2 separate regions of the Homo sapiens genome follow, and region 2 is linked to region 1. Evidence: promoter capture Hi-C in 16 types of primary human blood cells and fetal thymus (Javierre and others, 2016). All regions are on one chromosome and are shown on one strand. Each heading gives the region's core, a stretch centred on a gene start or on the middle of the fragment in contact. The rest is flanking DNA. Distances are from core to core; before and after follow the strand shown.

The links. The method cuts DNA at HindIII sites, captures the fragments that hold promoters and counts their contacts. A CHiCAGO score of 5 or more calls a contact.
Region 2: a contact is called between a fragment that was not itself captured here and the fragment with the promoter of SPG7 in region 1, in 2 of 17 cell types (endothelial precursors and M1 macrophages). The highest score is 5.5, in endothelial precursors.

The regions. Positions count from the first base shown.
Region 1 is chr16:89,505,291-89,510,740 of GRCh38, reverse strand. SPG7 (SPG7 matrix AAA peptidase subunit, paraplegin) reads right to left here and starts at 2,338. Exons shown (of 17, transcript NM_003119.4): 1 at 2,141-2,338; 2 at 149-251. The coding sequence starts at 2,323. LOC101927863 (a long non-coding RNA gene) reads left to right here and starts at 2,421. Exons shown (of 5, transcript NR_188547.1): 1 at 2,421-2,504; 2 at 4,594-4,782. RefSeq lists silencers at 1,845-1,964, 1,995-2,554, 2,625-2,834, 2,955-3,024 and an enhancer at 4,844-4,893. The HindIII fragment of the contact is 2,077 bases long and covers 1,007-3,083 here.
Region 2 is chr16:89,394,147-89,399,614 of GRCh38, reverse strand. All of the region lies in intron 2 of ANKRD11 (ankyrin repeat domain containing 11), which reads left to right. All of the region lies in intron 1 of LOC128462377, which reads left to right. Among named protein-coding and RNA genes, the nearest start is that of ANKRD11, 94 kb to the left of the region's middle. RefSeq lists an enhancer at 3,743-4,681. The HindIII fragment of the contact is 1,236 bases long and covers 3,480-4,715 here.

The DNA.
Region 1 (5,450 bases), core at 1,089-3,588:
GTGAGCTCTGATCACACCATTGTACTGCACTCCAGCCCGTGCAACAGGGCGAGATCCCGTCTCTAAAATAAAAAAAGATCAGCCTCCCAAGTAGCTGAGGCGGTAAGTGTGCAGTCATGCTCAGCTGCTTCTTTAAACAGATACATACCTAAAAGTTGCCAGAGTCTGACTGGATTCTGAACTAAATGTTGTTTCAACAACAATCCGTTGATCCCTTCAAAGGTAGGGGTTAGCAGTCTCAATTGTAAGCTCTGAAAAAAAAAAAAAAACAATACTGGAGGTCACACCAACATTAGAGAGTACCAAAGCAATGCAGACTAAAAATCGTTTTTAAAAGTTCAAATATATAATTATTTGTAATATCTACATTGCCCTGAAATATAAAGTAATAGTCTGAGCAATAGGTCAAAGCTTTAGGTAACATCAAAATGTCAAAAGCAAGTAAACAGGTTAAAACACAGTAATTGGCCAGGCGTGGTGGCTCACGGCTGTAATCCCAACACTTTGGGAGGCTGAGGCGGGTGGATCACATGAAGTCAGGAGTTTGAGACCAGCCTGGCCAACATGGTGAAACCTCATCTCTACTAAAAATACAAAAATTAGCCGGGCGTGGTGGTGCACACCTGTAATCTCAGCTACTCAGGAAGCTGAGGCAGGAGAATCGCTTGAACCCGGGAGGCAGAGGTTGCAGTAAGCCGAGATAGCACCACTGCACTCCAGGCTGGGCAACAAAGGGAAACTCCATCTCAAAAAACAAACAAATAAACAAACAAAAAATCACGATAGTGGCCAGGCACGGTGGCTCATGTCTGTAATCCCAGCACTTTGGGAGGCTGAGGTGGGAGGATTGCTTGGGCCCAGGAGGCAGAGGCTTCAGGGAGCCATGATCAGGCCACTGCACTCCAGCCTGGGCGACACAGCGAGATTGTCACAAAAAAAAAAAAAAAAAAAAAAGAAGAAAACAAAACACAGAAGTACATTGGCTGCTATCCCATGGCCTGAAGCTTCTGCAGGAGAAAGGGAGCAGCCCAGCTCTCCAAAGGCCACAGTGGCTGCCCAGACACGGGGCTCCTGCTGTCACCAGAGAGTGGCTCCTTGTAGAACATTTCCAGGTACCAAACCAGTTAACAAGTATATACTTTCAGAGTTCTCCTTTCAAGATAAACATTTTCCCATTTAAATATGTTTTATGGCCGGGCGCGGTGGCTCACGCCCTGTAATCCCAGCACTTTGGGAGGCCGAGGCAGGCGGATCACAAGGTCAAGAGATGGAGACCATCCTGGCCAACATGGTGAAACCCCGTCTCTACTAAAAATACAAAAATTAGCTGGGTGTGGTGGCGCGCACCCGTAATCCCAGCTACTCAGGAGGCTGAGGCAGGAGAATCGCTTGAACCCGGGAGGCGGAGGTTGCAGTGAGCCAAGACCATTGCACTCCAGCCTGGGCGACAGAGCGAGATCTCTGTCTCAAAAATAACCGAAAAAACAACAACCTAAAAGGTGTGGGCTAAGCTCCTAGGCGAGGGCTAGGAGAAAAAAACATCAGCCCAAAAGCTGAAGGACACAAGGTCTGGTTTTCGGGAGGAGATGCTATCCTATCCTTAGCAGAACCTGAAACAAGGCCGCACTACAGGGGGTGCTCAATGACTGTATCAATAACGTGCCGAGCTACATGACAACAGCAAAATGCAGCTACAGGGTATTTTGCGGACACAGAAACGTTCTGGGCCCCCTACTCGGCAATAACCACCCTAACTGGAAGGCGCTGGAATTCCTGGTGACGGAATCGATCCACAGGCGTGGACTGTAAATTAGTGCTACGCCGGAAACCGTTACTGGATTCCACTTTAAAAGGCGAGGAAGACGGGCGGAGAACATCCACACACAACAGACGGGTTGGGAAAGTCCACGCCGAGGACTGCGCGGATCCCAGCCCTGCCTCTTCCCGGCCCGCCCAGCGCCCACGATCCAGGGCCCCAACAGTCGCTCCGCGCCGAGGTCCACAGCTGGGGGATCCGCGGGCCCACAGGCGCAGGCTCCCCCGCCGCAGGGGCCAGGCGGCCTCCGACCCGCCCCGCCGGGCTGGGCCTTACAGAGCAGAGCCGGGCGGGAGGTGGGGCCCGGACTCCGCGGGGATTTACCTGCAGAGCTCGGCCTCCAGCCTCGGCGAGGTCCCCCGGAGGCCTGCTGGCCATGTACGGCCGCCCCCTCCCGGGCCTGGCGGGGAACCCTGGACTCCAGGCCGGGCCTGGGCCCCACAGCGGCCGAGGACCCGGGCCTGGACCCCGGCGGAGGGCACGGAGCAGCAGCAGCAGCACGGCCATGTTGGCCTGAAAGCCGCGCCTGCGTGATCCGCGGGGCGCTACACGGCGCCTGCGCGGCGGGGTGGGCGGGGTCTGACGTGGCGCCTGCGCGGTCCCCACAGCTGCGCCCCGCCGCGCCCGGGTGCCGCTTGCCGCACCCCCGAGCCTGAGCCCGTCTACCTCGTGGCTGCCTGAGGCCCGGGTATGGGGGCGCGCGTCTGCGAGGAGGTCGCGGGTGCCCTGGTTTTTTTGAAGCCGGCCTTGTATTCCCAGGGCCTGGCGGGTGAATAACCGGCCGGGTCGTGGCTGCGTGGTCGTGCTCCGCCCGCGCCGAGGGGCCTCACGCCCGGGCAGCCTGCGTCACCCGCAGGGTTCGGTCACAGGCGAGGGCGGATGGTGCGGGCCGGAATCCCGCCTGCGAGTAGAGGCCCGCGCTCAGGAGGGCGGCGCCGGAGGCCTCGGGTCGGGAGGGCCCCTTCGGGTGTGAGGAGCGCAGGAAGGGGGCGGTTTTCCTGCGTCTTGAGCCGCCCGAGGACGAGGACTGAAGTTGCAGCCGCCGCAGGGAGGGCAGCCCCGGAGGAGGAGGGTCGTGAGGGAGGGAGCGCGCAGTGCGGCGCGGCCTGGCAGGCGTCTGCAGAGCTCGTCCCGCACACCTCTGACTTCGGAGCGCTCCGTCCTGTGCCTTCGGACTGGCTCACCTCGGAGGCGCTTCGAGCCTCGGTCCTGCCCCGGCCGCTGCGCGAGCCCATCGTAGGAAGCGGGGAGGCGCCGTCTGGAAGCTTAGGAAGAGGCTCTGTTCTCTTCAGGGTCCGCCCTCCGGGCCCGGGCAGGGTCCCTCGTGGGCTCCCAGGCGCGCGGGGTCCTCCGCCACCCCGACCCCTTCCTCCGTCCGCCTTAGGTCTAGAGCTGACGCCAAGAGCTGGAAAGCTTGTTGAGTAGGAAAAGCAAAGACTAGATGGTCTGTCACAGAGGTAGGATGAGGGTGACCTATTTATTTTTATGCTTTTCTGTACTCCGCAAATTCGTAACAGTGAATGCCAGTGACGACAGCCAACATCACCGAGTGCCTAGCTCCGTGTCGAACACCCATGTAATATTCACAACCCTGTGCAGCGAATACAATACCTCTATTTTACATGTAAAGAAAGATTCAGAAGTATTAAAAGTAACCTGCCTAGGATTACAGCTCTGAAGTTAGGGCAGAATTTCAAGGCCGGTCTGGTTTGTTTCTGGACCTGCACTCACTCCACCACTACAGACGAGGTTGCAAAGCCAGTGGGCTGCGTGTAATCCTCCCTCTTCCTCAGCCCCGAGACGCTCAGGAAAGTGTTTTCAGTTATCGTGGTTATCCGCCCTCAGCCCTCCAGTGGGCCGGGTGCCTCGGCAGAGGTGCTCGGGGCTGGGGAGGTGTTCTGTTGGTTTGTGGAGAGGACCTTCCCCTACACCCAGGGCTGACACTGATTTTCACAACTGAACCGCTTTTCCTTTTGCTTCTTATTGTACAGTCAGCCTTCGCAGTGAATCCAACCTTGCCGTTTCCTCCTCCACTATTTTTTCTTTCCCTGATTGAAAGACACCAGGTGGGCCGGGCGCGGTGCCCTCCCCCTCCCTCTCCCTGCCCTTCATCCCAGCACTTTGGGAGGCCAAGGCGGGCGGACCACGAGGTCAGGAGATCGAGACCATCCTGGCTAACACGGCGAAACCCCGTCTCTACTAAAAATACGAAAAATTAGCCGGGCGCTGTGGCGGGCGCCTGTAGTCCCAGCTACTCGGGAGGCTGAGGCAGGAGAATGGCGTGAACCCGGGAGGCGGAGCTTGCAGTGAGCCGAGATCCCGCCACTGCACTCCAGCCTGGGCGACAGAGCGAGACTCCATCTCAAAAAAAAAAAAAAAGGTCACAAATCCTCTGAACGCACAGGCATAAAGGGTTGTGGGGCTCGGTCACTTCCTAGAACACAAAAAACCCTTTCGGAAGTTTGGTTGGGTTGGTCACGGGACAAGGCTGGAGAGAGGGTGAGGGCACACATTTGGATGTGTTTGGGAGGAGTTTAAGTGTAGTCCTATTAATATTGTTTGAGATAAGTTAAAATTGTTTCCTGGCAATTCATCAGAAGCAGTGTGGGGTGTTGGCAAGAGGCCTCCTCTGGGGAAAGAACACTGGGTTCTGTCTCCTCTGGCCTATGACCTTAAGCAAGTTATTAGCTTCCTCAAGCCTCAATCTTCTCAGCGGTAAAATGGGGATGATAATTATCTGCAAAGCAAGGCTAATATCAGCCTTGGGTTTCCCACAGGGTGGTTATGAAGATAAAATGCAATAAATGTGTGTGAGGGCAACTGACGAGCCAGGAAGCCTTGGCATCCAGAGTTATTACTGGGACGTCATGGGAAATGAGGATATGGGAACAGAGTATTTATGCATTTATTCAAACTCATCTCTAACAACCGTGCTTTGAAGGCTGGCTGCATCCCAGGCCCTACAGGTGAACCGTGACTCTCAGCTCTCAGCTTCAGCCCCTGCTGTAGTGGCGGCAGCAGCAGAGGCTCACGTAGCCTCAAGCAGTAGGGGTTTTGTTTAAGGATTCGGGTGCCCCATGGTTTGGGGGTTTTGTTTTTATTTTGCTGCATGATTTGGATTCAAGAAGAAGGATCTGTAGGACAGTGGGCTCCCGGGTCTGCCTTTGCCCTCATAGCCTGCAGCAGAGCAGGACGTTCGCTTTCCCTTCTCCGCCTGTGTGTTCTTCCTGCACTGCCTAACTGCTGCTTGCTCATTTGTGCTTCCGTGTCACCCCTCCTCAGCCCTCTGAACTCTGCACGTCAGGACTTGGCACACTTCCTAACTGCTGCTTACTCATTTGTACTTCCGCGTCACCCCTCCTCAGCCCTCTGAACTCTGCGCTTGGACTTGGTGTGACTTCCCTTCCCCGCCTATTCTCTAGAGGCAGTCTCTTGGTGACTCCTGGTTTGGGTCAGGGCACGCCTTAGGTCTCTGGATGGCTACCAACCCCAGGTTCCCTCAGCTCTAGCCCCATAAGAGAGGAGGCCTCAGGAGCGCCTAGGGCAGCCCTTTCAGCCTGGGCTGTGGGAAGGGAAGGTGGACAGAGAGGAGACCCCATGCCTTTGTTCCCTGTTGATGCAGAAGCATTCTAGG
Region 2 (5,468 bases), core at 2,848-5,347, 110 kb after region 1:
TGGTTGGATGAACGTATCCTGATGTGGACCCACCGTTGTGGTATCATACAGAGTAGTTTCACTGCCCCAGGTCCCCCGTGTTCCTGCTGCACATCCCTCCGTCCCTCCCTCTCCCCAGCCCCTGGCATTCGCTGATCTTTGTGCTGTCTGCACGGTTTTGCCCTTTCCTGGATGTCAGAGTCGGAACCGTACAGCGTGTAGTCCTTGGAGACGGGCTGCTTTCACTCAGCAGCATGCGTCTATGGTCCTTTTTTGTCTTTTCAGGGCCTGGTAATATTCTGTTGTCTGGATGGACGCCGGGTGTTTAATCCACTCACCTATGAGTGTCTTGGGTCACTTGTAGTTGTCTCTCTGGGCTTCTCTTACGGATAAATGAAGAATAAACAAAGCCAGCCACTGGCCCCTGAACTCGGTTCTGCCTCTGACTTGTCTTGATGAGGAGGTGTCCTTGCGTGGACTCGTGCTGTGTCATCATGCTCCTGCTCCGTGTTCGGAGCCACCTGGGCTGTGACAGGAGGTCAGTGTTCAGGGATGATGCAGTTTCTGTTGAGGCAACACTGAAAATGCCTTGCTTGGAAACTGCGTCTCACAGAGCATGGAGCTTGTTAACAATTTTAAAAAACTGATGATGCTGATGGGAGAGAGGGATGATGGGAGTCTGTCTGGGGTCTTTGAGGCCTTGTCCAGAGACTGCCCCAGGATCCTGGGTGGCTGTGCACAGCCAGCTGAGCCATGTGCCTGCCACTGCATCTGTACTCCTGGGCCAGAAAGCACCTTTGCTTAGCCCACCTGATTTTTCTGTCAGAGACTAGACGAGTAATTTCTAACCTGGGCTTGAGACACTAACAGTGTATTGGGATTTTTTTTTTTGGACACACAATCTCTCTCTGTCACTGAGGCTGGAGTGCAGTGGCACAGTCATATAGCTCACTGCAGCCTCAACCTCCCGGGCTCAAACCTTCCTCCTGCCTCAGCCCCCTGAGTATCTGAAACCACAGGCAGGTGCCAACACACCCAGCTATTTTTGTTTTTTTATTGTTTTGTTAAAAAAAAATTTTTTTTAAGAGATGGGGTCTCCCTGTGTTGCCCAGGCTGGTCTCACACTCCTGGGCTCAAGCAGTCCTCATGTCAGCCTTCCAGAGTGCTGAGGTTACAGGTAATCTTCAGCTGTTTCACAGTGTCCCTCTTGTCAGCCTCCCAGAGTGCTGAGATCACAGGTAATCTTCATCTGTTTCACAGCGTCCCTCATGTCAGCCTCCTAGAGTGCTGAGGTCACAGGTAGTCTTCAGCTGTTTCACAGTGTCCCTCATGTCAGCCTCCCAGAGTGCTGAGGTCACAGGTAATCTTCACCTGTTTCACAGTGTCCCTCATGTCAGCCTCCCAGAGTGCTGAGGTCACAGGTAATCTTCAGCTGTTTCACAGTGTCCCTCATGTCAGCCTCCCAGAGTGCTGAGGTCACAGGTAGTCTTCAGCTGTTTCACAGTGTCCCTCTTGTCAGCCTCCCAGAGCGCTGAGGTTACAGGTAATCTTCAGCTGTTTCACAGCGTCACCAGATTCTCCAAACACAATTTAATTTTATTCACATAGACAGTGCTACATTGTCACTGGTGACAGGCGCTTTGTGGTTGTTTTTGGTGGGTGAATATTGCACCGATTCAACAACAGGAGATCAGTGTCTGAGGGTCCTGTGTTGCCACCCGAGGCACCTGCTTTGACCAGGGATGGAGAGTCCCATGCCCAGGACGAAGGTTTGTGTGCTGGTGGTGAGCTAGCTGGGAGACGTGGCACGGGCCGCTTGTCCCTGGCCACCGCCTGCTGCCAAGGGCTCCACTCCAGTCCCTTGCCTGTCAATCAGAAGATGCTCAGAGGAGAGGCTTCTGCATCATCTTCATCTTGACATTCCAAGAGCAGTACCGGGTCAGCATCCACAAAAGCACACTGTAAAACTGGGAACTGTGTCTTACCCTTCCTGAGTGAAAAGGGAAAGTTTATGCCTCAGCCTGAGGCAGGTGGGCCCCTTGCCATGCACACCTTTGTCCTGCAGCCAGGGATCCACTTGGCTGGGCTCAACCCTTCCCCGTCAGGGACGACTGCACAGAAAGGAGCGCGGATAGCAGCAAGGCCCGCCACGGGGAAGGCCTGCTTCCTGTGGGTCCCCCTGTGTGGCTGGCAGGGAGTGGTACGGCGCTGGGAGTCCAGAATCACTGAGGACACGGAAAGCTTCAGCTTCTTTGAGAAAACTCAGATTTTGTAAATGCGCATCCAGTTGACAGCACTTACGGTGGAATCCGTGGAGTTGGACTTGTGAGAGGCCTTGCCCTGAGGGGGTTCTTGGCTGGTGTCTGTCCTGGAGGTGGATGCCTTGATGGCTGTGTCTCCCGTGCTCCCCTCACCCAGGTCCTCATCCTCAGGACTGTGAGACGCCGTTGGACGTGGAGGAGCCTGAGGAGCTCTGGCTCTGTGGGTATGTCTGCTGGCATTTGCCAGTTGAAACCTGAAGGATTGGAAAATGTCTGTATACCAATTCCAATTAACAACAGGAATAATAAGCCCATTGCATATAAGCAGCACATTCTTTAAAAAAAAAAAAATCCTGTATTTTCCAGTATAAAAAATTAGTGATCTGGTCAAGTCCCCTGGCTCATGCCTATAATCCCACCAGTGCTCTGGGAAACCGAGGCAGCTGGATCACCTGAGGTCAGGAGTTTGAGACCAGCCTGACCAACATGGTGAAACCCCGTCTTTACTAAAAATATAAAAATTAGCCGGGTGTGGTGGTGGACACCTGTAGTCCCAGCTACTCGGGAGGCTGAGGCAGGAGAACGGCGTGAACCTGGGAGGCGGAGGTTGCAGTGAGCCAAGATGGCGCCATTGCACTCCAGCCTGGGCGACAGAGTAAAACTCCGTCCCAAAAACAACAGCAACAACAACAAATAGCAATTAGAGGAGCATTTCCTTAAAATTGTACAAACCCCATTAATGTGTGGCTTCATAGAAGACAGCAGGGTTCTCCTCGCTGTTCCTGCATCAGTCTGTGGTAAATATGTTGTTCTAGTTGAAGTATACAAAAAAAAAATCTAGTGGGAAAATGGAAGCATATTTTTAATAAATAGCTTTTTGATATAATTATGGAGATTTTCATTGATACGACACCAAAACCCAGCAGGTGTTTGTGCTGTGAGCGTTTCCAGCAGCAGGGGAGTCTCAGGGCTTCCCTTTGGTCTCTCTTGCGGCGAGTGCGGCTCCGTCGCGTGTGTGTGGGAGTGTGCCTGTGTGTCCACATCTGGAGGTGACCCAGGTCAGCACACAGTGTGCACCCAAGGGCCGATTGGGTGCCCGGGACTCGTGTGCATCTCCCGACGTGGATCCACTTGATTTTACTACATCAGAAAGCAGCACCTGTCTCTTCCAGGGAGACTTTTAGTTCTTCAGAAGCTGTCTGCTCTTGGAGTTTTCCAAAATTCTTATCTTTGAAAGCTTGAATTTTCACATTGACAACAAGTTGTTGAGGTGTTCTGGCTGAACTTGCAGCTGTCTTTCCTTCATTTTTTAGAAATGATCTGCCAGTACTCATGTCCGAACAACCAGAGTTTGCATGTCGGTCGGTCATTCTTTGACTGAAGATTGGTGCTTCCTGTCCAGAGGCCGCTGTGTCTGGTGTGCGGCAGCAGTGCTTTGTGCATACTTGTTTTGTCATGAAGGATATGCACAAGATGAATGCTGCGTGCTCGGGACGTAGTGCGTTGAAACAGTCTTGCCGCACCACCCCAGCAGTCCTCCAGTGAACTGGCTCATCAGTGCGGTGTCACCCAGCTGAGAAGGCATTGTTATTAAGCAGGTAGTTTTACACCTGGGAAGCAAGTGTACCAAGCTATTCAGTCTGTGTGCTGGGTGAGAAAATGTTGTTGAATGAATCAGGTCAGTCTGTGTGCTTATTGACAACTTTTCAAACATTTCACACCCTTAGAAGAGTCTGTATCACTTACCTCCCCTGATACCTATGCTTGCAAATGTGTGTGCAGTTTCAGAGGGTTCCAATGTGATGGCCCATTGGTCCCCTCCTGGGATTCTCATGGACAAGTAAGATTCGGTTCCCCGTTCGGGTGGGTCTGTGCGTCTGTTCCTGGGCGCATGCTCACAGAAGCAGCACGTGTCCCAGCCGTGGGCTGGCATCCCAGCGCTGTCTCCTCTCTTTGATCTTTGCATGCCAGTAGCAAGCGGACCATGTCCCCGCAGTGCAGGACTGGGCTCTTATGTAACAGCTTGCCGTCAGGGTTCCTTCCACACCGACGCTGCTCCCAGGATTACGGAGCTGGAAAGAGTCCAGCCCATTCCTCTGGCAGTACGCAGCCCTTCCCTGGGGCTCAGCCAGTTTACTTGGCTTGCATAATTCTTTCTGTTAAGACGCTGCCTTAAAATTGACCAAGCCTCTAACTTTTTAGACCAGGAGTCTCTTGGATCGTTTGAGTGGTGGTGTTGCCTGTTCTTGGCCCTCTTTCATCTTGTCCTGTGCTTCAGCCTGGTCACTTGGTTTAATAATTTGTCTTTGTTTTTCCAAATCCTGCAGAACTTTTAAGATGATCTGGATTGCAGTGACTTAAAATCATACCGTGATGTATTTGCTGGTTTGGAGATCTTTTTAACAGGGGGTTCTCTCATCAGCTCTAAGTAGCCTTGGAAAAACTGTCGCCTCTGAATTGGCTGCAAACAAAGCTTTAGGCTTTCCAACAGTGCTACAGCCAACCTGCCTTAATTGGAAATGAGGAGTCTGGACGTTTGAAAAATAACTCAATAACCTCATGTGTGTAACTCTCGGGGCCATATATTATGGAGATGGCTGTGTGTAATTTTACAGCATCCTTGATGGAGCCTTTGTCATAAAACACGACTCCTGTATATGAAAGCAGTCTTCGCAGGTTTTATTGAGACGAGGAGTGGAAAATACACTCGTTTTTCCACAAAAGGTTGTTTGTTTTTTTTTTTTTGGAGACAGAGTTTTGCTTTTGTCGCCCAGGCTGGAGTGCAGTGGTGCGATACTGGCTCACTGCAACCTCCGCCTCCTGGGTTCAAGCGATTCTCCTGCCTCAGCCTCCCGAGTAGCTGGGATTACAGGTGCCTGCCACCACGCACAGCTAATTTTTGTATTTTAATAGAGACAGGGTTTCACCATGTTGGCCAGTCTGGTCTTGAACTCCCGACCTCAGGTGATCTGCCCGCCTTGGCCTCCCAAAGTGCTGGGATTACGGGCGGGAGCCACTGTGCCTGGCCCACGAGCTGTTTTTCTGATGAGAAGTTTCCTGATGAGTGAGAGCAGTGTGGCAGGTGTGGAGGAGAGGCGGACGGCTGCTTTCCAGGGACATGGGAGACCACTGTGGAACTGCAGTCCCAGAACGTGCCCATGTCGTGGAGGGAAGCAGGTCAGAGGCTCCTGCCACCTGCCCGTTGACCTCAGGAGGACATTGTGCTTG